6 separate regions of the Homo sapiens genome follow, and all the other regions are linked to region 6. The links are contacts of gene promoters, found by promoter capture Hi-C in blood cells and fetal thymus (Javierre and others, 2016). All regions are on one chromosome and are shown on one strand. The core of a region is centred on a gene start or on the middle of the fragment in contact, and the rest is flanking DNA. Distances in the headings are between cores, read along the strand shown. Region 1 overlaps TAPT1 (transmembrane anterior posterior transformation 1). Region 2 overlaps TAPT1-AS1 (TAPT1 antisense RNA 1). Region 3 has its middle 7.1 kb from the start of FAM200B. Region 4 overlaps LOC105374510 (a long non-coding RNA gene). Region 5 overlaps TAPT1 (transmembrane anterior posterior transformation 1). Region 6 holds the start of LAP3 (leucine aminopeptidase 3).

The links. The method cuts DNA at HindIII sites, captures the fragments that hold promoters and counts their contacts. A CHiCAGO score of 5 or more calls a contact.
Region 1: a fragment that was not itself captured here is called in contact with the fragment with the promoter of LAP3 in region 6 in 1 of 17 cell types (total CD4 T cells); the score reaches 5.2 in total CD4 T cells.
Region 2: a contact is called between a fragment that was not itself captured here and the fragment with the promoter of LAP3 in region 6, in 2 of 17 cell types (total CD4 T cells and total CD8 T cells). The highest score is 6.4, in total CD4 T cells.
Region 3: a fragment that was not itself captured here is called in contact with the fragment with the promoter of LAP3 in region 6 in 1 of 17 cell types (total CD4 T cells); the score reaches 5.7 in total CD4 T cells.
Region 4: a contact is called between a fragment that was not itself captured here and the fragment with the promoter of LAP3 in region 6, in 1 of 17 cell types (total CD4 T cells). The highest score is 5.6, in total CD4 T cells.
Region 5: a contact is called between a fragment that was not itself captured here and the fragment with the promoter of LAP3 in region 6, in 6 of 17 cell types (non-activated CD4 T cells, naive CD8 T cells, M0 macrophages and 3 more). The highest score is 6.3, in non-activated CD4 T cells.

What each region holds. Positions count from the first base shown.
Region 1 is chr4:16,194,744-16,198,720 of GRCh38, forward strand. The region is part of intron 3 of TAPT1 (transmembrane anterior posterior transformation 1); the gene reads right to left. Among named protein-coding and RNA genes, the nearest start is that of TAPT1, 30 kb to the right of the region's middle. The HindIII fragment of the contact is 1,795 bases long and covers 1,748-3,542 here.
Region 2 is chr4:16,229,690-16,233,481 of GRCh38, forward strand. The region is part of intron 1 of TAPT1-AS1 (TAPT1 antisense RNA 1); the gene reads left to right. Among named protein-coding and RNA genes, the nearest start is that of TAPT1-AS1, 4.9 kb to the left of the region's middle. The HindIII fragment of the contact is 8,035 bases long and covers 1-3,792 here.
Region 3 is chr4:15,672,813-15,676,697 of GRCh38, forward strand. It overlaps a transcript of FBXL5 not described here and a transcript of FAM200B not described here. Among named protein-coding and RNA genes, the nearest start is that of FAM200B, 7.1 kb to the right of the region's middle. The HindIII fragment of the contact is 8,677 bases long and covers 1-3,885 here.
Region 4 is chr4:18,587,322-18,591,062 of GRCh38, forward strand. The region is part of intron 1 of LOC105374510 (a long non-coding RNA gene); the gene reads left to right. Among named protein-coding and RNA genes, the nearest start is that of LCORL, 570 kb to the left of the region's middle. The HindIII fragment of the contact is 2,571 bases long and covers 892-3,462 here.
Region 5 is chr4:16,212,745-16,216,815 of GRCh38, forward strand. It overlaps TAPT1 (transmembrane anterior posterior transformation 1), which reads right to left. Exons shown (of 14, transcript NM_153365.3): 2 at 1,024-1,154. Among named protein-coding and RNA genes, the nearest start is that of TAPT1, 12 kb to the right of the region's middle. The HindIII fragment of the contact is 1,009 bases long and covers 873-1,881 here.
Region 6 is chr4:17,574,561-17,578,447 of GRCh38, forward strand. LAP3 (leucine aminopeptidase 3) reads left to right here and starts at 2,638. Exons shown (of 13, transcript NM_015907.3): 1 at 2,638-3,007. The coding sequence starts at 2,906. RefSeq lists enhancers at 2,286-2,645, 2,986-3,185 and a silencer at 2,706-2,915. The HindIII fragment of the contact is 2,285 bases long and covers 1,336-3,620 here.

The sequences.
Region 1 (3,977 bases), core at 1,395-3,894, 1.4 Mb before region 6:
CATTGCTAACATCATAATTGGTTGCTGCAGGAATGACTGTGATTTTCAGGAGGAATATTATTCATATAAAGAATACAAGAAGCAGAACCTTTAAAAAACAAGGGTCTTGATTTCTGTCTTCTTCTTCTTCTTCTTCTTCTTCTTCTTCTTCTTATTTTTTGTATTTTTAGTACAGACAGGGTTTCACCATGTTGGCCAGGATGGTCTTGAACTCCTGACCTCAGGTGATCCACCGGCCTCGGCCTCCCAAAGGGCTGGGATTACAGGCTTGAGCCACCGTGCCCGATAAGGGTCTTGTTTTCATATAAATGTCCTTGTTAATAAAAAAGAAAGGCTGCCAAAATAAAAAATTGTTTCTAAGGTGGCATCTTAAAAGACAGCTGTATGTACCACAGCCTCTTTCTAAGAAAAGACCTAACCTCACAAATAAGTTTACCTGGTTAAAACAACTTGAACCAATCAGTTTATTTGTTCCTTCTCTGCCAGGATATTTTTAGATGACTATCTGATAAGCACTTCAAACTCCCTAAGAAGCTTATCCAAGGCCCTGCCATTCAACCCCGAACTGGCTTTTGAAAAATACTTTCATGCTACAGTTCTTATAAATGGCTAAGTGGTGGTTACTGGCAATTCACCTTGCAAATGATGAAAACCCCATATGAAAGCATAAACAAGTGAAACATACTGTTGGGCAAAGTGAAAAACCCACTAATCTAATTTGCAGGTTTGGGTGTATGTCATCACACAAGTAATATTACATCAGGTATTTAACAAAACTTAAACATTTTTCAACATAAGACATTTAAACAGAATTCTTTTAAAAATTTCTAGTAAAACCACCCTTACAGAAACCAAATTAGCTAAATTTCCAAAATTTTACTTTTTATTCTTACAAACATTTCCATTTCCATTGTATTTCTGGTAACTGTACAATTTTACATTGTACAATTTACCAGTTAGAGCATCTCTAGTTGTTTCAAAGGGCTCATAGACTTACAGAAACTGAATTATACAGTAGAGAAAGACGATCAAGGGTAAGCTGTTTCCTTTTCCTCTTTAGGGGAAGATAATATGCTAACTATGATTAAAGTAACATCTAGTAGTGGACAGAAAGATCAAGAAGGAAGATGTGGCACCAAAAATGAGCGAGAAAAATGGGAGAATCCCTGCATAGTTATTTCAAATCAGTGTTGAAACATGCCAGAGTATTAGCATGAGTTATTTCATTACAAAATACATAGACTAGATCTCTCGCTCTCTCTCAATATTTTCAGCCATTTGTGGTATAATTGGAAGAGTGAAGAAACACAAGCACTACTGAAATAAAAATGCAAAATAATATGTTTTTATTTTTGAAAGTGAAATCCTTTTATAATTTAAGTAAACTGGAATAAAGTAGTGAAATCAAGATGTTTTCCTGAATTAGAAAATTAAGTATCTTAAATCTTCAGTTTGACTCATATGTAACAGAAAAATAAATACTTAAACGGAATGATTCAAACCATTTCTTAAACTTTAATTTCAAACTATACTGAAAAAAATAACTTATTTATAAAGCTATGTTCACAATTTTAGTAATGCAAAATAAAAACTGCTTATATGGAAGGAATTAAGCTCAGCCAATTTCTGTGGCTTTGGGGATGAAGTATTTGCTAAGTCTAAGCTAACATGTGTAAAGATGACTTTTGAGCGGATTTTCATGTTAGGTGAAATCACAGTCAAATCCTTCACAAAGAAATGTGGACAAAGCTTTAAGACCAAGTAAAGATGCTATTTTAAAAAGGACAGGGATCCACATTTTCTTCAGTATGTTTCTACCCCCTAATGGCTATGTCTGCCTATCCTGTTTACTTTTGCATTTAATGAATGTCAATTTGGCCAAGAGTATAGAAGGAAAAATCAGGGTTTACTCACCACAAGGAGTCCCTGTGCCACCACATTCCATTCTATAAAGGAAGTGAAAGTGCTCCTCCCTTCGGTCTGATTTACGAGAGAGAAAGAAAGAGAGAAGATTGTAATGTTGCTACGCTACTTAGAGCTCCATGGTGAGGAAACGGGACAATAAAACCTGGTGTTACGAAGACTTTCTAATAACAAATATATTGCTCTCAACAAATAAGCCACATAGATCAGCCCTGGTAAAAGGAAGTAAAAGGCATATTTGTTTCCCCAGAGAAAGTTACCAAGAGCTCTCCCTACTTGTGCTACAGTGGTGGCATCAATCACTTAGGCCAAAATCAAGGCTTAATTTTGTCTAAAAAGAGAAAAATCTATTATAACATATAGGTGAGGTTAATCTTGGGCAGAACTATTTCGAAAGAGGTAAGGCATACGAAGGAAACTCAAAAGGTTAGGAAACTCTCAAGCATCTGAAATTCATAATTCTGGGAGACAAGAGCTCTCCCATGGGATAAACTCTCAAAAGAAAATGATACTATTGCCTCTTCAACCAAGAAAAATAAAAGCCTGTGAAGCCTCATGTGAGAGTTATGCCTAAAGCCGGGCCAGGGGACAGAACATTTGCTCACACATATTTTAGTTGCTCTAATAGTAAAAAACAAAAACCAAAAAACACTCCGGCATTTATTACTTAAGCCTGTTCAACTCATGTATCACTTTCTAAAATGTTTCAGTAAAGTTTTTTCAACAATAACTCAATTCTTGGTACCAGGCTATATCATTTTTCTCTACAATCTTCTTTAACTTTTAACTTACGTGACTGAGAATTCTAAAGCACAAAACGAAGTCACAAATTTCAGGAGAATAGAGGGCTGACAAAAATGCCAGGTAAATCAAATGTACATAATTAGCTATTTTTCATTCAATTCTACAAGCAAATTTGGAAAAAGGATGTTTCGTACCTCTAACATAATATAGAGCAGTCTGCTTTTCTGAAAAACAAAAAATTCTATCATTCTTCCAAGGAATAGACACTTCATATAATAAATCAAAACTTAGTTCTGTTTTATATGTCATGAATCATTAAAAAGATTATCCTCGTTCAAGAAGTTTCTCAAATGATTTCTAAAATGACACTACTCTTATCTGGGAAAGAGGGAAGATATACATAAGTGAATCTGCTTTTAAAGAATTTAGATGCATTTTCTAATTTTTTTTTTAAGTCTACAACAAAATATTTGTGGGCAAAGATTTTTCAAGGTTGTTAATTCATCAGAAACTATTTCAGTGAAGTATTCTTGAGATCACTGAGGACAGACATTAACTTTTAGGGAGGGAGTGCATCCTTGGCAAACACCACACACAAATATGACTGCAGATAATTACCCTGCCAACATCTCATAATGAACAGTACTTAAACAACAGGGTCAAAGCCAGCAAAACACCCTGCTGGATGAGCCATCATGATGAAGGCTGGGTTTACTTAAGGCACTGTAGAACCACCCTTGTCCTCAGCCTTAGTGAAGGGACAGGGTCTTTATTTTACTTAAGTCAAAAACCATGGCAAGTTTGCAGAAGAACTAGAAATAGGTTCAAATATTAAGTTATGAAGCAGAGAACACGGGGGTCTATGTGCTTTAAAAAGCTTCTCACAAATGCTGTACAAGATGTAAATCTGCAAACAGATGAGGTGAGAACACTGATCTCAAATATAAAAAGAAGGCAATAATTTACATTATTGATGTGATACTGAACCAAACAGTTCTAGAGTCTGCAAAGAGTTACTGTTTTCACGTCAGCATTGTGATTAATTTGACAAATGGACTGTTTCCTCCCTTTTGTGAAAACAATTTCAAAGAACAAAGAGACTAGGAAGACAGTAAGTTTTTACAGAAAGAAGATTGAAATACAGGAGAGTGAAAAAAAAAAATTATTTAAAAAATTGCAATCAACTTCTTTGCCAGTCTATTTCACTTCTTCTTATTTCTTTGAAAAAAATAAAGTCAGACTGAAGGAAAGAGCACTTTTTGCTTGCTGAAAAGGATGGAACATGACATCACTACAGGCAAGACAAATCG
Region 2 (3,792 bases), core at 667-3,166, 1.3 Mb before region 6:
CTTAAGATTGCTATATGCACTATGAGGCTAATGTATTTTGAAAATTGCAAAACAATATTTTTTAAACAACAAAAATTTGGTGAGTAGCATACGCAGACTTCAAAAATAAATTGCGTAACTTCATATTTCAGTAATTAAAGATTTAACAATAGTGATTTTGTGGCTAAACAAAATATACTGAACCCATTATGTATAAACCATGGATTCAGAGCTCCAGAAAATTATCTTAATGAGGCATATAAACTCTTTTTGTTTAATGTCCACACCAAATCATTATGGTCTGCCATTTCATGAAATAACAAGTTTTAAAATAAGTGATGTTTTTTAGTTTGTATATCTATATTCTTTTCTACCAGGTATAGCACAGTGTAGTACAAGGGCCTACAGTTACAAGCCTTGGGAAAGATACTGTTTTGGCCACATATTTCAGCTATGTGACCCTGGAAAGAGGGTCTCAGAGGGCCACTGTGGCCCTCAGTGTCTTTTCATTGGTAAATTGGGGCAACATCTTTTGTATAATGAAAGCTGAAAAAAATAACGATTTTCCTTTTATTCTCCCTTCCTTTCATTTAGGCTGTAGTTTTCACTTTTTAACTACAAAGCAATTTATCTCTTGATAACACTTCTAGTGTATTGTCCCTAAAGTACTTTTGAAAGTAGTTCTGTACACTTTTCCTGAGTAATAAAAACATCACATATTTGCTAACTTGAAAGAATCCCGAGTCAGGAGATGGCCTGGATTCTCTCTGACCCTTCAACTAAAGTCTTTGACCAAAGGAGCACAGGTGACCCCTTTCTGCTTCATTTTCTGACCTGTAGAGTATTGGACTCAATGACCGATCCTCCCTTGTAGCTCCAAAATTCTGGGCTAAACTCCATGCACCTCCCTTCTGAGTTAAAAATAGTAGACAGGCCTGCATTATCAACATTTGTAGAAAAATATGAAATGCTTAGAGTCACTTTGTAATTGAGTCTAAGATTTGAATGCATAGAGTTCAAATGCAATACTTGTGTTGATAACACAACAAAGACATGTAAGTTTTTATGTACCTTTATGTTCTATGCATTAGTCCTTCATTCCTTGGCATGAGGAGAAGTGATGGTTTCTCAGTGACCTTCCAGAACTCTAAGGCTGTGTTTCTCACACCAGGCCTCAGGGTTTCTACATTTTGAACAAATTTCCAGTATTGTACCCATGCACACCTGAGTCTAAGAACTCTGCTGTAAGGTGACATTAAACAGCACCTGAAGTTATATTTGAGATGATTACTCAGTAATCAATGTACAGTTGATTTTCATAGTGTGGATTCAAGCACGGAATAGAGCACAGTTTTAATTAAATCTGTATTTCTCAGTTGAAACTTTATTTTAGCATTACATGACTTCTATTTCATGAATCATAAATGTCATGTTTCTTCACAAACTGTAGTTCTGAATTTAACTCATTCACCATTTTGTCGTCAAAAAGAAGAGTTGATGTTGTTGAAAGATCTAAACAGCTTTGCAGCTGATGTTCTAAAGAAATAAAATATACCACTGAACCCAGATCAAGCCTTTGCACTAAATTAATGTGAGTTTGAATTTCTGAGTTTCAGTAGTAATATTTTCTATCTTTGGCAATCATTTTTGGACTGACGCTCATTACGTTTTATTCTCTTTGGGCTTTATTCCATGGATTTGTAAAGGACACCAGTTCGCTTTATTTCTGGAAGATGTAACACAAATTAAGTAATGTGCCTTTGATTCCAATGTAACTGTTACACCTTAACTAAAACTGTCATGAGCAACATCATTTTTAAAAGCATTTCTTTGACGTGCAAATATATGACAGAAACCATTGTAAATAGGACTTTTTGAAAACAATACTTTGCTAAAAGGGGTGTTTTATGAAGGATATTATGTTCTGAAGACCTAAAGGTAGGTTCTGTTTATGTAATAAAAGTGTATGAACCTATATAATTTCATGGCTTATTGGCTTATAGGGCCTTTTATTCATGATCAGATATAAAATTTATTTTGTGCTGTACTTTAAATTTCTGGAAAATTTCAAAATACTGATGAAAGGGGCCCTGGTAATGACTCAGCAGACTTTCCATTCCAGATTTATCTCTAAGAAAAAAGAAGTGTTTCTCATTATCACGATGAAAATAAATAGAGGTTGTTTCAAACCGTATTAATCATTTAGTCGGTTAATTAACAAGAATCCTTTTGCAGAATAAATTCAGACCTTCTAGTAAATGTGTTGATAACTGTCAAAAATCCTTTTTTATAATTCTAGCTAGCAAAGGCTTTCATTTTGGAATTCAGGAAGCAGGGGAGATTTTATTTATCACCCAGTTCCTGTTGCTAGTCCTTTTGAATTTTGCCTTTCAGAGTTTTTTTTTTTTTTTCTTTTTGTTATTCCCCAGTGGCAAGTTATTTATTGCTTCGTTTGGCCACTCATCAAATAGTAGTTGGTAATCAGAAGATTTTACATGATATTCAGGATAATTTTTTGCTTTTTTCTAGTGTTTCTAGTTGAACTATGATGGATTAAGGTAACTGAGTAATTTTTCTCTTGACATCGATGCCCTTTAAGCTCTTTTGGGCTGTGATCCTGCTCTTGTAATTAGCTTTCATCCTGTTCATTAATCAGTGTTTCCATTCTGACAGTTTTTCCTTTTCTTTCTCCTCTTGTTTCTGAGATATTAAAAAGCGAAAGCAGTCTCTTACAAGGATCTATTGTTTGTTATCTTTTAGGCAAACCCAAGTATTTATCTCTCTCTTTTGCGTTCATACCAAAATTTATTGGAAATGCACGATAAATTTTCAGATTCTCAAAAATCTCAGGGTTTCTGCTTTCCAGGTTTTAGAAATTAGTTTATCTGATTTCAAGGCCTTAGATTTTCAAATTGCTCTTTTATATGCATCTATTCTATTCCGTTTTCTTTTCAGTTCTAAGCCTATGTTTATATGTAAAATGCTTCTCTTGTTTCTGACATTTTCCAATTTAGTATCAATTTCTAATAATGAACCACTGTTACCTGCTTGTCTTCCATGTGGATGCTTAATAAATACTATAACTTAGGTATACAGTTTCATGGAGGAGAATAGAAGAATGTGGTTAATTTTTTGAAATAGCAATAAAAAGAAAACATGTTGTGGCTTTAGCAAGCATTATTTTCTTGTGACAATTTTATCCTCCTAATTATACATTGCCTAAGCTGGTACTAACGTTAATTCATGTTCTCCTAAGCATATGCCCACTCTTGACAGATATACACTGGGGTTACAAATTTGGCGTGTATAATTTACACATAAATATTCAATTGCTAAGAAAACTGAGACTAAATCACATGCTGGTCATTATCATCTTTTAAATTACACTCTGACCTTTCATCCATCTACTTAGCAGTGTAATAACACAATTGTCTTAATATAAATAATTCATTTCTAGTGCTGCAACCCATTTTTAAATACTCAATTTTAATATTTATTATAGTTCTGATATTTATTATCTGACATGTTTGGCTAGATATTCTTTTTCTGAACAGTACTTAGTTTCATGTAATTTGATTTTATTTTTACTAGCTGGATAAACACACAGTTTTACACAGTAAAAATAAAATCAAATTACATGAAATTAAATTAATGTAATTAATTAATGTAATTAATGTAATGTAATTAATGCATCCAACAAAAATCAGTCTTGTATTAAGTAATTAAAGGTCCAAAAATCAGTTGGTTCCATTGACTTTGGGCAATGCAATGTCCACTCCAAATCTGTCGTTTGTTTCGCTCTGATATTTTAAT
Region 3 (3,885 bases), core at 334-2,833, 1.9 Mb before region 6:
AACTTTTTGACTCTCTTGTAATAACATTTAGCTTAAAATACATGTTGTACAGCTGTACAAAAATATTTTTTATATCCTTATTTTATAAACTTTATTTAAAAAATTTATTTTTACGAGACACAAATTAGCCTAGACTTACACAGGGTCACAATCAACAGTATCACTGTCTTCCACTTCCAGATTTTGTCACCCTGGAAGGTCTTCAAGGGCAATAACATGCACAAAGCTGTCATCTATGATAACAATGCCTTCGTCTGTAATACTTTGAAGGATCTGTCTGAAGTTGTTTTACGGTTAACTTTTGAAAATATACATAGGTAGAAAAAGTATACTCTAAAATAACAATAGGGCAGGTGCAATGGCTCACACCTGTAATAAGCACTTTGGGAGGCCGAGGTAGCTGGATCGCTTGAGCCCACAAGTTTGAAACCAGCCTGGACAACATGGCAAAATCCTGTCTCTACAAAAAATACAAAAAATTAGCCGGGTGTGTTGACCCGTGCCTGTAGTCCCAGCTACTTGGGAGGCTGAGGTGGGAGGATCACCAGAGCCCAGAAGGTCGAGGCTGCAGTGAGCCAAGATTGCACTACTCTACTCCACCCTGGGCAACAGAGTGAGACCTCATCTCAAAAAAAATAAAGATAAAATAAGGATAAATGTATCAGCAAGACAGTAGACCAGCATCACCACAGACACATAAGACATCATCATTGAGATCTATGACATCACTAGGTGGTAGGAATTTTCCAGCTCCATTATAATCTTATGAAGTCTATCATTGAACAAAATGTCTTTATGTGATCCAAGACTGTACTGTAATATTTTTGGATGATCCTTTCCTTGGCCTCAGGTCATTTCCTCACATGCATACAGTGATCAATACTTACCTGAAGAATCAGGAGAGATTCATTCCAGATCACTAGAATTCTCTCTCTATGCAGCTCTCTCCCTTCTAGCAAACTCTGGCTGCACTGGTTTCACCAGGCTCCAGGCTCTATCAACAGAGGGATTCCACTAGGCTGCATATGTTCCCCTCTCCCTGTACTATGGCTTAGAAATTCTCCCAAGGCAATAAACTGAGGCAATCATAGGACTCACTTTGTTTCCTATTGATCAAGGTTCACTGTCCTTCATTGCCTGATATCCAATATCTTGGAAAACATTGTTTTATATATTTTGTCCATTTTTTATTGTTTCTGGCCTGTATCAAACTTTTAACCATTACATGCCAGAACAAAAATTGATACATTCAAGGAAAAAACTGGATAGATTTGTTTTCCAACACTCTGAATCAAAAACTGAGTTATGCTTGGTGCCTGCAGAATAGGAAATATTGTAGCTTACTTCTCTGGAAATACTAAAGAATGATTATGAAATATCAAATGCATCGTGTTTTTTTTTTTTTTTTAATTCTCTAGCCCTATGTCATAATGATGTATCATTCTTTTGGAGGAAATAGGATTGTTCATTGCTAAGTGGCATGAATGTAGTACCGCTATTGGTACTTTTAATTCTTAACCCATAAAAACAAAGAAACAGAGTTAACACTGTACTGGGTATGTGAGAACTGCACTTGAGATCCCAAACTGAAATCAACTTATGAATACATAGCACACTCATCACTTTAAATAAAATGTCCCCCAATTTTTATTATATTGTATTTATTTGGGATTATTTCTCCATTTTACGTTTATATATTAGTGAAATTATATGTAATCATAACTTTTTTCCTTACAAAATTATTACTCATGAAACTTTCATTTTAATCATAAAACCTTCTTTTCTCCTTATCAACTCATTTCTATCATCTTAGAAGATTATCAACGTTATGGGATTTTTGGGTTTTTTTTTTTTTGAGACAGAGTCTCACTCTGTCGCCCAGGCTGGAGTGCAGTGACGCGATCTTGGCTCACTGCAAGCTCCGCCTCCCACGTTCACACTATTCTCCTGCCTCAGCCTCCCTAGTAGCTGGGACTACAGGCGCATGCCACCATGCCTGGCTAATTTTTTGTGTTTTTAGTAGAGACGGGGTTTCACCGTGTTAGCCAGGATGGTCTCGATCTCCTGACCTTGTGATCCGTCTGCCTCGGCCTCCCAAAGTGCTGGGATTACAGGCACGAGCCACCGCACCCAGTCGGTTATGGTTTTTAATGATAAATTAATTTGTCATATACCTACAATCATTGTTTGCACAAATTCCCATCAGTTCACTAGGAATCACGAAAAAAAAAGCAGTGGGCCTGCCACTACAAAACACTTTATGCATCAAAACAGATGAAGCAACTGTAAGGTATTTCTGTGATGTGTAACCAGGCTTGTAGAAGACTTTTCCACATCATTGATTTTTTATGTTAAGTCACATAATTTATAGAGGAAAGCTACCTCCCTCTAGTTTTCACTTCCTATATTTTGTTCCATAATTCATTTTCTTCAAATTAAGATTAATTTATACTTAACATTTATAAGACAAGTAGAAATTAATATGGGAAGCAAAATACTAGTATATAAAAATGAGGTGAATAAGTACCACAAATAAAAATTATTTAGGACTAAATGACCAACTACTACTATAGTATATAAAGATTTTCTTGCATTGTTCCTATCCTGGATTTACCAGCCTTCAGGCTTAGATCCTATCTAACCCCTCTAACTATTACTTTCAAATTCAAGTCTTAGCTACCACACAGGCAGTGCAAAAACAGAACCACTCAAGGAGTTGAACCTTCACTATGTCTTAACTTCTCGGTCACAAAACTCCTATTTTTTTTTTTTTTTTTTTTTTTTTTGAGGCAGAGTTTTGCTCTTGCTGCCCAAGTTGCAGTGCAATGGCGCCATCTCAGCTCACTGCAACCTCTGCCTCCCAGGTTCGAGCAATTCTCCTGCCTCAGCCTCCCAAGTAGCTGGTATTACTGGCACCTGACACCACACCCCATTAATTTTTTGTATTTTTAGTAGAAATGGGGTTTCACCATGTTAACCAAGCTGGTCTCGAACTCCTGACCTCAGATGATCCGCCTGCCTCGGCCTCCCAAAGTGCTGGGATTACAGGCATGAGCCACCGCGCCCAGCCAAAACTCCTGTTCTAGTTGAATACGCAGAAATGCTATTCTGACTACCTCAAACAGAATTCTTTCTGATCCACAGATATCAAAGATTTATGAGACAAAATTTTAAAAGGAGTGAGAGGTGAAAAAGAGCTCTACTTTTACTATTAAATTAGCTGTCTGACCTTTGGCAAATACTTAACTTTCTGGATCTTAGCTTCTCCATCTAAAACCAGAAAGGAGGTTAGAGGAGATATGACTACAGAGCAACCCAGCTTATGGAAATTATATATTATTGCTCTATAATCCTTAATCCATATATATTAGGACACTGTTTCAAAAATATTATTGAAGCCTTTCACCTCCTGATATGATGCAATAGGATGTTTATAAACTACCGCATAAAAAGCATAAGAAGTAGTCAAACCTGAACCTAATCAAGCATCTAAATTTTACCATTAGTTTACAGAAAATAAACATGATAGAATAGGTTGAAAGATTGTATGAGGATGGAAACAGCCAAATCCTGAATATGGGAAATTCAATCAGACAAATGACCTAATCTCTACAACAAATAAATGTCAACAACAAAAAAAAGGGAGACTCTGTTATATATTAAGAGAGACAAAGATATATCAATAAAATGAAATATGTGGACATAGTTTAGCTTCTAATTCAAAGAAACAAGTGTAAAAAACATTTTTTGGCAATAATTATAAAAATCTTAACACTCAATATTAGATATTAGATAAAAATGTTACAGGGTCATACATTTCCTTCACAATAATTCTGGCTGAGAGAAGGGTAGAGTGTGTGTATATGTGAATGAGTATTACGGGGG
Region 4 (3,741 bases), core at 927-3,426, 1.0 Mb after region 6:
ATTGAATACATACCATGTGCCATTCACTGCATTAAACTGTAGCTTCAAGCACAAATGCCTTCTAGCTTGGGAGATGATTACTCTGAGAGGCAGGGGAAACTGGAACTAAATATGGGAATAGCAGCTTCACACCTCCCTTCTCACCGAGGCAAGCAACCAATTATTGAAAGTGGAATTTCACACACTGTTGAACTGTTATTTCTTCCCTTTCTTTCTTTTTATCTCTATCTCTGGACAAGAGCTTACAGTTGAATTCACATAAATTCGATGTGGGTGTTGGGTACTGTACTTGCATGATCTCATGTAACCTTTATAACAATCCAACAAGGCCCATAGGTAACAGCTATTATTTTTTCTTATGTTATATCTAGAGAAACTGAGGGTGGGGAGGTTGAGTGATTTTTCCAGAGCCATATGGAGCTAAGTGGGGTATCTGGCACTCAGGGCCAGGGAAGAGGGAATTAAATTTAACAGCAATGAAGGAACACAAGCTCTCATGTCCCTTTGCTCATCTCCAGGGTCATAATCCACTTTTAGAGTTTCATGACCTCCTGATGGGACTGTTGTAAAATCCACCAACTTATTTCACAGTCTAAACACTCTCACCCTTTCTTTCCCAACTCATCCTTTCCTATCCTGTTTATCTTCTGGATGAATCTGAGTTCACGCTGAATTTCTTGCGATCTAAAGCATGATAGTCCTTTCACTTCTCCTTGCCTTTGCATTTCCTATCTTCTTTGTCTAGGGTATATGTTCTCCTTCTGTCATTGACAAGAAAGCCCCTCATCTCTTAAAAATGGGCCAATGTCAAGTCCTTCAGGAAAAAGCATAGCATAATACTTAGAAGCAGTGACCCTGGCTCTGCCACTTAACATCTGTGGGAATTCTCTAAGCTTTTGTTAGTGTTTTCATCTCTAAAATGGAGCCAGCACTACCTATATCACGGGATTATTAAAATCATGAAAGATAAGGGCTTTGCATAGATCCTGAGACACAGTGAAAGCAGAATGAATGTTATTATTTTATGTAACTGCATGTATTATTTTCAGTTCTCCATGAAAACATCCATCATTCTTCAAGTATTATTAACCACCTTCTCAGATGGGTTGTAGAGTAGGTACTGTTCATATATACATAAACACACACACACACACACACACACACACTAGAATTTATTGTTATCTTTAATTATCTGCTTAAATATCTCTTCTTTTACCATCTTATCCTCTGTCCCCATATATATTTCCTGTAAATAATCGCACAGAAGTCTTCTGCCTCCAATACTGTGGAAATCTAGGCTATGGAAGTTGAGTCCAGGAAAATCCCTAGAAAGCAGATCCCAAGGATCTGTTTTGGGGATGAACTGCTTATGGTCTGTATGCAATATGGGACCCGTGGTGGTTGTAAACAATGGGATAATAACCCCTGGCATGTAGAGGCATTATAATGAATGGTGTTTTTACCTCTGATTAATTGCGATAATGTGAAAGAAGTAGGTGGGGCGTTATTTTGTGCAAAGGCTCTGCTGAATAAATAGTGTGGGGAAAATGATAATTGGGAGGATATTGGAGTGGGTTAACTGCATTGTAATACTTAGGAAAAGAAAATGATAGCATCAGAGCAGTAAACTGTGAACTCAAAGCATGCCATGAAGGTCAGAGGGGCTTTATGGCTGCTTTGGAGAGCAATGATTCCTTTTATGGTTAAGGTGCAGATTATGTAGAAAATCTGAGTGGCAGAACCACAGAGGAGACTGAATGCACAGCCACACTACTTAGGACCTTACAGAAAAAGAGTGGGAGCCTGAGAAATGGCTAGGGTATATTTGGGTGGATGAGCCTGAGAATCTTTTTTTTTTAAATTTTATTTTATTATTATTATACTTTAAGTTTTAGGGTACATGTGCACAACGTTCAGGTTTGTTACATATGTATACATGTGCCATGTTGGTTGGCTGCACCCATTATCTTGTCATTTAGCATTAGGTATATCTCCTAATGCTATCCCTCCCCCATCCCCCCACCCCACAACAGTCGCTGGTGTGTGATGTTCCCCTTCCTGTGTCCATGTGTTCTCATTGTTCAATTCCCACCTACGAGTGAGAACATGTGGTGTTTGGTTTTTTGTCCTTGCGATAGTTTGCTGGGAATGATGATTTCCAGCTTCATCCATGTCCCTAGAAAGGACATGAACTTATCATTTTTTAAGGCTGCATGGTATTCCATGGTGTATATGTGCCACATTTTCTTAATCCAGTCTATCATTGTTGGACATTTAGGTTGGTTCCAAGTCTTTGCTATTGTGAATAGTGCTGCTATAAACATAAGTGTGCATGTGTCTTTATAGCAGCATGATTTATAATCCTTTGGGTATATACCCAGTAATGGGATGACTGGGTCAAATGGTATTTCTAGTTCTAGATCCCTGAGGAATCGCCACACTGACTTCCACAATGGTTGAACTAGTTTACAGTCCCACCAACAGTGTAAAAGTGTTCCTATTTCTCCACATCCTCTGAACAGACAATTCTCAAAAGAAAACATTTATGCAGCCAAAAAACACATGAAAAAATGCTCATCATCACTGGCCATCAGAGAAATGCAAATCAAAACCACAATGAGATACCATCTCACACCAGTTAGAATGGTGATCATTAAAAAGTCAGGAGCCTGAGAATCTTAAATCTGCAAATTCCCTTGAATTTCCACTACCAGAAGACCCAGTCACCTTCCTCTTGCTGGAGGATAGCAGCCTCTTACGTGGTGACCATGTGAGGATCTACACTGAGACAGGGCCTCATAATGCTATTCTGTTCTCAAGATCTGCCTCCGCCACCCCTCAGTCCCTCCAGGCCAATATCTAGGGTCAGGACTTAGCAATATCTGAATGGAGAAGTACTATCTCAGCTCCAGGATAAAAGGGCTTACATCTCAAAGGATTGCAGAACTTGACTAATAGGCACTGGTGAGGACTGGGGGATCACTGTGGGAGTGAAATGTGAGGCTGTGGGGGACCAGGCAAAGTACACTACACTGTTAAATGGGGAAGGTTTTTATGTTTTGTTTTTTTGTTTTTGTTTTTGTTTTTGAGACGAGGTTTCACTCTCGTTGCCCAGGCTGGAGTGCAATGGTATGATCATAGCTCACTGCAACCTCCACCTCCTGGGTTCAAGCAATTCTCCTGCCTCAGCCTCCCGAGTAGCTGGGATTACAGGCATGCGCCACCACGCCCAGCTAATTTTGTATTTTTAGTAGAGACGGGGTTTCTCCATCTTGGTCAGGCTGGTCTTGCACTCCCAAGCTCAGGTGATCCACCCGCCTTGGCCTCCCAAAGTGCTTGGATTACAGGCATGAGCCACCGCACCTGGCCAATGGGGGAGATACTTGATGTTGAGGCACTCATCCATGATGCTAGATTCAAGTTCTGGAAAATATACCTGGAGTTTTCTGAACTGGCACCTGAAGCTTCAATATAAAGATGGACCAGAATGAATGCGGTGGAGATGCCAAAACCTCCTTGGAAGCGCATTGTGGAATGGGTCAGAACGCCTGGGTAGGTGAAGAAGTTCAAATGACTTTGCTCTGTAAGACTTTGCAAGCCTACCAGCTGTGGTACTGATATGCTAGGAGTCTTCCATTTGGAGTTGGAGCCAGTGGAGACAGGGCAATAAATGGAATTTGATCCTAAGTCTTTCTTACAGTTATTATTCAGGATGCAAGTGAGTTAGAAATCCTTAGCTTC
Region 5 (4,071 bases), core at 127-2,626, 1.4 Mb before region 6:
CTCACCAGCTCTCTAAATCCCACCCTAATACAGAACTCCCTAAAACTTCAGCAAGTGACGCTTCACCAAGAACCTACATAAAGCAACATTTCTGAAACTGTCACTCTACATTTCGCTCTTTTTCTTCTATTAAACTGATAGACTATCAGAAATAGAACATCAGCCAAACCAGCTGGGTCCTTACTCCTCATTGCCTGCAGTACCTCTTGTTACTACAATGTACCAATAAATCCAGCCAACCAAACTCTTCTGATAGCCACTCCAACAGAAAGTATGATTCTAAGAAGACGACTGGACTATTACAAGATTTACGTTACTACAGAAGTATGAAAACATGTTTCAATATAGCTGAAGCTGAATTATTTCTTCTTTTCTTTTAGCAAGAAATTTTGGAATTGCTTAGACTCACCAACTCTAGCATCGCCTAGGGGAGAAGGGGCTGCTTTCCCAGCCTATTTTATTGGTCTTGATAGGATAAGGCACAGCCAAGGAATAAGACACGTGAAGATGTAGTGCTGCTGTTACTACACTCACCCTGTAATGTGATGCTTCCTGTGATAAAGATTAAACAAACCATCTTTTTCTTTGAAGAGACTGTCCTGTATGTTTATAAACATGTGGGCTTTCTGAGAAACTGAAACCTTTAAAAAGGCTGAAATTAAATAATTTATCATGCTGAATGGGGGAAAAAAAACCTGTTTCTAGTAAAAGAGAACTGAAGGGAACTAAAAGGGTACAGAAGTAGAGATTAATTCCTTACAAAAGTTATTTTGATGTAGCACACAATGATAATGATAGGCAGAAAAGTTCAGATTTTGATAGATCTATTAATATCCTATCACTGGGTCTTACACTAAAAAATGTAACTTTAAAGCTTCTTCCTGTAAGGAAATTTCTACTCCCCCAATAACATTATTTCAATTATTTAAAAAACTCAACTCTAGCTGTTGACCATTTTTTTGCATAATTAATACTTTGACATAACTTTCAAAATGATGTCTGGTAATGAAGAAAAAATAGTACCTTTTCCAATTCTCTTGGTATTCGCAAACAAGTGTATACTCTTTCTCTTCTTTCTGTATACTTGGCCTCATTATGTTCAAGGAAGTACCCTCTTGTTAGTTCAGCACTGAGGAACCTCAACAATGAAAGCTCTACAGAAAAGAAAATGACAGAAAACAAAAAGAACAGTATTTATCAAGGAACTTCCACGCTAGCTGGGGCCACAGGTAATATACATATAAAACAAAGAGACCAAAATAAATGTTATCTATAATTCTATGCCTAGAACTGCACACAATGATCAGCAAGTATTTTTGAGAAAAGTATTCTTCTTTGTGGTATAACCTGAAAATGCCACAGGAATATGGAAAGGAATAATTATTAAGGGCTAGAATAGTCAGAAAAGTATTTTTCAAGAGCTCAGTCTTGGTTCTTACAGGTGATACAGTACCTGGACTGACAGACATGGAAGGAAAATCAGTAGGTGTCAAGAATATATAAAATAGAGCAATATATAGAGTCAAAAGGGAGCAAAGTCACACAACGGGCACCACTTTAGTCCAAGAACCATCCTGGATGAACTACATGGATACTGGTGCCCCAGCTCCCTTCTTAGTTTAGCCTCAGAGATCCTGCACAAACATCTAAATAATGCCATTTCCCTACATGAAGACTTACCAACATGATACTCACAATAGTTATTACGCGAAGTGCAACCTCAACCGGATCAGAAAAACCTCCCTTTCCTTGGATCTTTCCATTCACCCGTGTTTTTCCTCTGTTCCTCTAAAGCAAATTACTCCATAGTTATCTCATCTCAGGTGAGAAAAACAAGGTCAAAGGAAGTTATTTATATACTTTCCACTCACTACAACTGGAAGCTTGAGGTGAGAAGCGAAGGCTCTGGATGCTCGACCCCACCTCTTCCCAGTGCATTACACTTCCCTGATAGCCCATCCCCTCAATGACCCTCAGCACCCCTTACTTCATCTACAGCTTCCTACTTTTACTCTGCAGGAGGTAAACTCTCTTCCAGAACGCAGGTTACCAAAAGGTTTCCAACTGTCCACTGTTCTCTTTGCTCTGAGCTGGCCTTGTGGTCCTTTCTACCAAATGTGGTCTTAATGTTCCCTCCAAAAAATGACAAGGGAGGAAGGTTGATTTCATTTATGCAGATCTACTTAAGGAGTTGCACCTTCTAGGAGTACTATGATCTAAAGCCTACATGTGAGGGGGGAAGCGTTTATAGTAAAAAATATCCTTGGCCAGGCACGGTGGCTCACGCCTGTAATCCCAACACTTTGGGAGGCCGAGGTGGGCAGATCACGAGGTCAGGAGTTCAAGACCAGCCTGGCCAACATAGTGAAACCTATCTACTAAAAGTACAAAAAAAAATTAGCCGGGCGTGCCGGTGGGCGCCTGTAGTCCCAGCTGCTTGGGAGGCTGAGGCAAGAGAATCGCTTGAACCCAGGAGGCAGAGGTTGCAGTAAGCCGAGATCACGCCACTGCACTCCAGCGTAGGTGACACAGCAGGACTGTGTCTCAAAACAACAACAACAAAATATATATATATATCTCCTTAAAAGCCCTTGGAAAGACTTAGAAGCCAACTTGACTATGGTTTTAAACAATAGGTCTACAACAGCTTACTTCCTCCAGCATTAAAACGGATTCCTGGTTCTTTGAGTATTATGTCAAGTGGCTTGCTTATGTTAGGGTTTATTCCATATATATGTGTATGTACACACATACACATACACACTTCTTTAAATACCAGATTCATAATCTGTCTGGGGAGTCAGTGTTACCATGAGAGATACCTGGAGTTGAAACAGAAGAAGAAAGCAGACTTCTTTCCACCTTTGCCAGCCTCACGCAACAGGAGGCGGAATCTATCTACATGTGTCGTACTTTCTCTTTTCAATACATTTACAGTTGAAGTCACATGGGTTAAGTGCACGCAATATGTAAACTCTATTGTATAAATTAACAGATGTTTGGATTTAAAGGACTTAGTCTAACCAAATCCACATAGAGTAGAACTTCTGGTTAGGAACTTTCTAATATGTTCTACGCTGGCTAGAACCAGAACAAGATCTGCTCTTTCAAGGTGAGAAAAAGAAAACCTTTTGAGTTGCAAACAAAAACAGCCAAGACTAATGAAAGATAAACAAATCATACTCAGTTCAGTCAGTTTTCCAATCAGGAAAAAAAGTATGTTTTGATTAGTTAGTATCTACAAGTATCAGTTCTTTCATGTAAAAATCGAGAAGCAACAGGACTTTCAGAAAGCAGAGGAGATTCCACATATATAATTTTTCACTGACCTTAGTGAACTCTGAATTTTGAACCCCAGAGGCCACTTCACCACACTCTCCGGACAGCAGCTTCCCTGTCCCTCCATGTCACCTAAACCTGATTCAGTGGTGCTCTTCTGTCTTGAATGGCTGATTTTTCTCATCTGAGTCTCTTTGGTAGCCCTTCCTCCTGTACCCGATCCTTAAGTGTTTGCTGGTTCAGTGCTCTATTCACTACAGTAACATGTCAGCCATCCTTTAATGATGGTATTCTCCAATATGTCCTCATCATTCTTTCTTGTATTTATTCCCTATACCTACTCTGTTTCCTACACATGCTTTGTTTCCTATAGATTCCTAACTAAAATTAAAACCATCATCAAAATCCTAAAATCACATCTTCAGCTCTGGCTATTGAGTCATATTTCCAACAGCCTCCTCTACCTGGACATCCCATAGACACGGAAATTACCTAAAAAACGAAACCAGTATCTTGCCCACTGATTCAGCACCTCTCCTGGAGTCCTGACTTCAGTTCCTGGCATTACCAGTGACATACTTGCTGCCCTAGAAGCCCAGGGCCAATCTTGACAATCCCCTCTCTCTTCTTACCAAGGTCTACCAATTCTTCCTTTAAAACATTAACTTTTTTCCCCTTTTTCCTATACTCCACCCTGGTTTAGTCCTCTCCATCTCTCTCCAGGTTATTGCAAAAGCTTCTTGATTGAGTACCATTCTTCCCATCTTTCCTCCCTTCAATGCTAACTCCACC
Region 6 (3,887 bases), core at 1,388-3,887:
TAGTTTCAGAAACTGCGGCCTGATCTATCACGTTGGAAGGAGGGAAGAGCTGTAAAGTGAATGTAAAGATTTCGCTGTCTTTGGAGCAAATATAGATAAAATTTGGTGAGTTTATTGAGTTTATGATGCAACTCCATTTTAACTATCTAGAGAAGGTGGAAGCCAGAGTGGACCTACCAGTCCAACCCACTCAGCCTTCAAGAGAGGAAGATCAAATCTCTCCTCTGGAGTGTCTAGCTCTTGGAGAGTGAAATAGACATTCTTTCTTTCCTGCAACTGAGCTCAAGGTGAAGACTTTGCTCACTGCAGCTGGTGTAAGCCTCCCCACACCCCTGCACCTCAGCTAAAATTGCAATCAGATCAACAGTGGTGTAATTTTTTTAAAAAGAGATGGGGTCTTGCTCTGTGACCTAAGCTGGAGTGTAGTAGTACAATTATGGCTCACTGCAGACTCAACCTCCCAGGCTCAAGCAAACCTCCTACCTCAGTCTCCCCATTAGCGGGACTACAGGCACACATCTGGCTAATTTTTTAACTTTTTGTAGAGATGGGTATCTCACTACCTTGCCCAGGGTGGTCTTGAACTCCTGGGCTGAGTCGATCCTCCCACCTCGGCCTCCCAAAGTCCTGGGATTATAAGCATGAGTCACTGCACCCAGCTGGCTGGTGTCATTATTAAGAACAATTTTTGTATCCCTCCTCGTGCTTACCCATATTCTCCGAGTTGCATTCAGCTGTGTACTTTTTTACAATGAGAAATTTAAAACCAGCCGGGCGCGGTGGTTCACGCCCGTAATCCCAGCAATTTGGGAGGCCAGGGCGGGTGGATCACTTGAGGTCAGTACTTCAAGACCCACCTGGCCAACATGGTGAAACTCCATCTCTACTGAAAATACAAAAATTAGCCAGGCGTGTTGGCGGGCGCCTGTAATCCCAACTACTTGGGAGGCTGAGGCAGGAGAATCGCTGGAACCCAGGGGTGGAGGTTGCAATAAGCTGAGATCACACCAGTGCACTCCAGCCTGGGTGACAGAGCAAGACTCCGTTAAAAAAAAAAAAGTAAAAAATAAGGAATTAAAAAAAACAAAACGCTTTACAGAAAATAAAAATATATAAAAATATTGAGCACTACTTGAAAACTTTCTATTGAAACCATCCCCACTGTGTTGACAAAAATTTCATGCCAAGTTCTAGGCAGAAATATAGTTATAATTAAGCATTAATCAGGCTGTACTTTGGCCCACTTCCTTGTTGCTAAAAGTCACCTAGCACTACATACTGACCATTTGCATTCCCATTGTTCCTATAGACAGGATCTCTGACATTAGAATCATAAGCTTTCTGTTTAAGGATCGCTTAAGATATTTTTCAGACCTTGAATTCCAGCTACCAGTTTGAAGATCCCCAGAGAGGAATGGGGTCAGCTTAAGAATACAGGTTCTTCAACGCCCTGTCCCATGACTTCACCCTGCACTCTTCAATCAACGATCTCCACACTATAGCCCTCTCCAAAACCCTTAAAAACCTTGACCCCAAATTCCTCAGGGAGATGGATTTGAGGTTTCCTCCCATCTCCTCCTTTGGCGACTCCACGATTACACCTCTTTCTCTGCTGCAACCCTGGTGTCTGGGCGTATTGACTTGCTATGTGCACGAGTCAACGAACCTAATAGTGTTACATCATTTTCAAAAACAGTATTTACACCGTTGCACCTGTGGAACAGATGAAAGGACACGAATAAAAATAACTCAGGCCAGGTGCGGTGGCTCACGCCTGTAATCCCAGCACTTAGCGAGGCCGAGGCAAGTGGATCACGAGGTCAGGACTTCGAGACCAGCCTGGACAACATGGTGAAACCTCGTCTCTACTAAAAATACAAAGAGTTGCCGGGCACGGTGGCTCACGCCTGTAAGTAATCCCAGCACTTTGGCAGGCTGAGGCGGGTGTATCACCAGAGGTCAGGAGTTCAAAGCCAGCCTGGCTAACATGGCCAAACACTGTCTCTACTAAAAATACAAAGATTAGCCAGGTGTGGTGGTGGGCGCCTGTAGTCCCAACTACTCGGGAGGCTGAGGCAGGAGAATCTGTTGAACCCGAAAGGCGGAGGTTGCAGTGAGCCGAGATTGCGCCACTGCACTCCAGCCAGGGCTACAAGAGCGAGACTCCGCCTCAAAAAAAAAATCCAAAAAAACAACAAAAAAACACAAAGATTAGCTGGGCGTGGTGGCGGGCGCCCCTAATCCCAGCTACTCGGGAGGACGAGGCAGGAGAATCGTTTCAACTAAGCAGCGGGAGGTTGCAGTGAGCCGAGATCGCTCCATTGCACTCCAACCTGGGTGACAGAGCGAGACTCCGACTCAAAAAAACCAAACAAACAAACGAAAACTCAGTGGGAGTGTCTTCACTATGCAGTCGTCTATTCAGCAACCTTGACAACAAGCTCTGGCACTCAGTTTCTATTTCCCGGGAGTTGCCCAGCGCTCCGCCCACGCCCGCTTGCAGAACTCGCCCCGCCTCCGCCCCACCCATCGTGTGACGTCACCATATCGGTCCCGCCCCTCTACTTCGCGTTGCTCCCGGGACTGTCAACCGCGTCCGGAAGCCCCGCCTTTTCGCCCCCGCCCGCATGCGCGGGCGCACACGAATGCGGGCGCACACGAATGCGGGCGCACACGAATGCGGGCGCACCCTTGAGTCCCCTCCACAACCGCGGTTTGATCCCAGCGGTCCAGTCGGCCGGTGCTGCCCATCCGTCCCGCCCCCTAGACGCACGTCCGCTCGCCCGGCGCCCGAGCCAGTCCGCGCGCACGCCGTCTGCGCCCCGAAAGCCCCGCCCCAAGGCGCGCCCGCCCACCGCTCTCCACGTGCTCGCTGGAGGGCGGTGCGAGGGGCCGAGCCGACAAGATGTTCTTGCTGCCTCTTCCGGCTGCGGGGCGAGTAGTCGTCCGACGTCTGGCCGTGAGACGTTTCGGGAGCCGGAGTCTCTCCACCGCAGACATGACGAAGGTGAGAGGCGGCGGCTCGCTCATGGTCCGCCGCTGGGGCCCTGCCCGTGGGCTACTGGGGCTGCGGGGCTGGTCGAAGCCGCGGTGTCCTGGGCGCCCAAGCCAAGTTGCAAAAATCAGTTTAAAAGAAAAATTCTCTCCTTGCGGGGATCGGCCTAGGCCGCTGAGGACCCCAGCGGTCGTATTGAGGGCGCGATTCCCCTGCTCGGGGCTAGGGGGTGATGGTTGTAGCCGCCCTTTACCCGGCTCCACTCGGCCGCGCACTTGCTCCAGTCGTCACCCGCGGTCCTGGCAGTAACCCGGGGAAAGACGCGGCGGTGGGGCTCCCATCCGAGCTTGGAGGAAGCCCGAGTTTGCCAAGGTGAAAGGGTTTCTGAGGTCCCAGAGTCACAGGGCTCCTTCCCCCGCGGAAGTGAAAGGTCAGGGAGTTAAGTAGCTTGGAAGGGTTTCTAGAGGAAAAGCATGCCTCTCTAGAGAAAAGGGCTTTGGGGAGAGACCCACGTTTCCCAGAATTAAGAGCATCTTCCAGAAGAAAAGTGAACTCCAAAAAATTACGAAGGTCGCTCTTCAGATGTGAAGGATCTGCAAAGGGAATGGCTCTCGGAACCAGCACAAGCTTGGGAGTCATGCCTAAGCACCAGAAAGAGATGACTGTCCCTGCAGAAGAACGTTCTAGGGGGAGCTTGAGCTCCAGTCTCCTGCAGGTATCTCAGTGGTGGAGGGACCAGTCGCCTGACCAGTGCTATCTCCAGTACTGTGCCACAGCCTACCCAGATAACAGTTGCTCAGTTGGCTCCATTGATTCCCGGGGAGTGAACAATCTTAGGGAAGTTAGAACCTGGCAGAGTTACCAATGCCAAGGAAGGCCGTTTTCTTTGGTG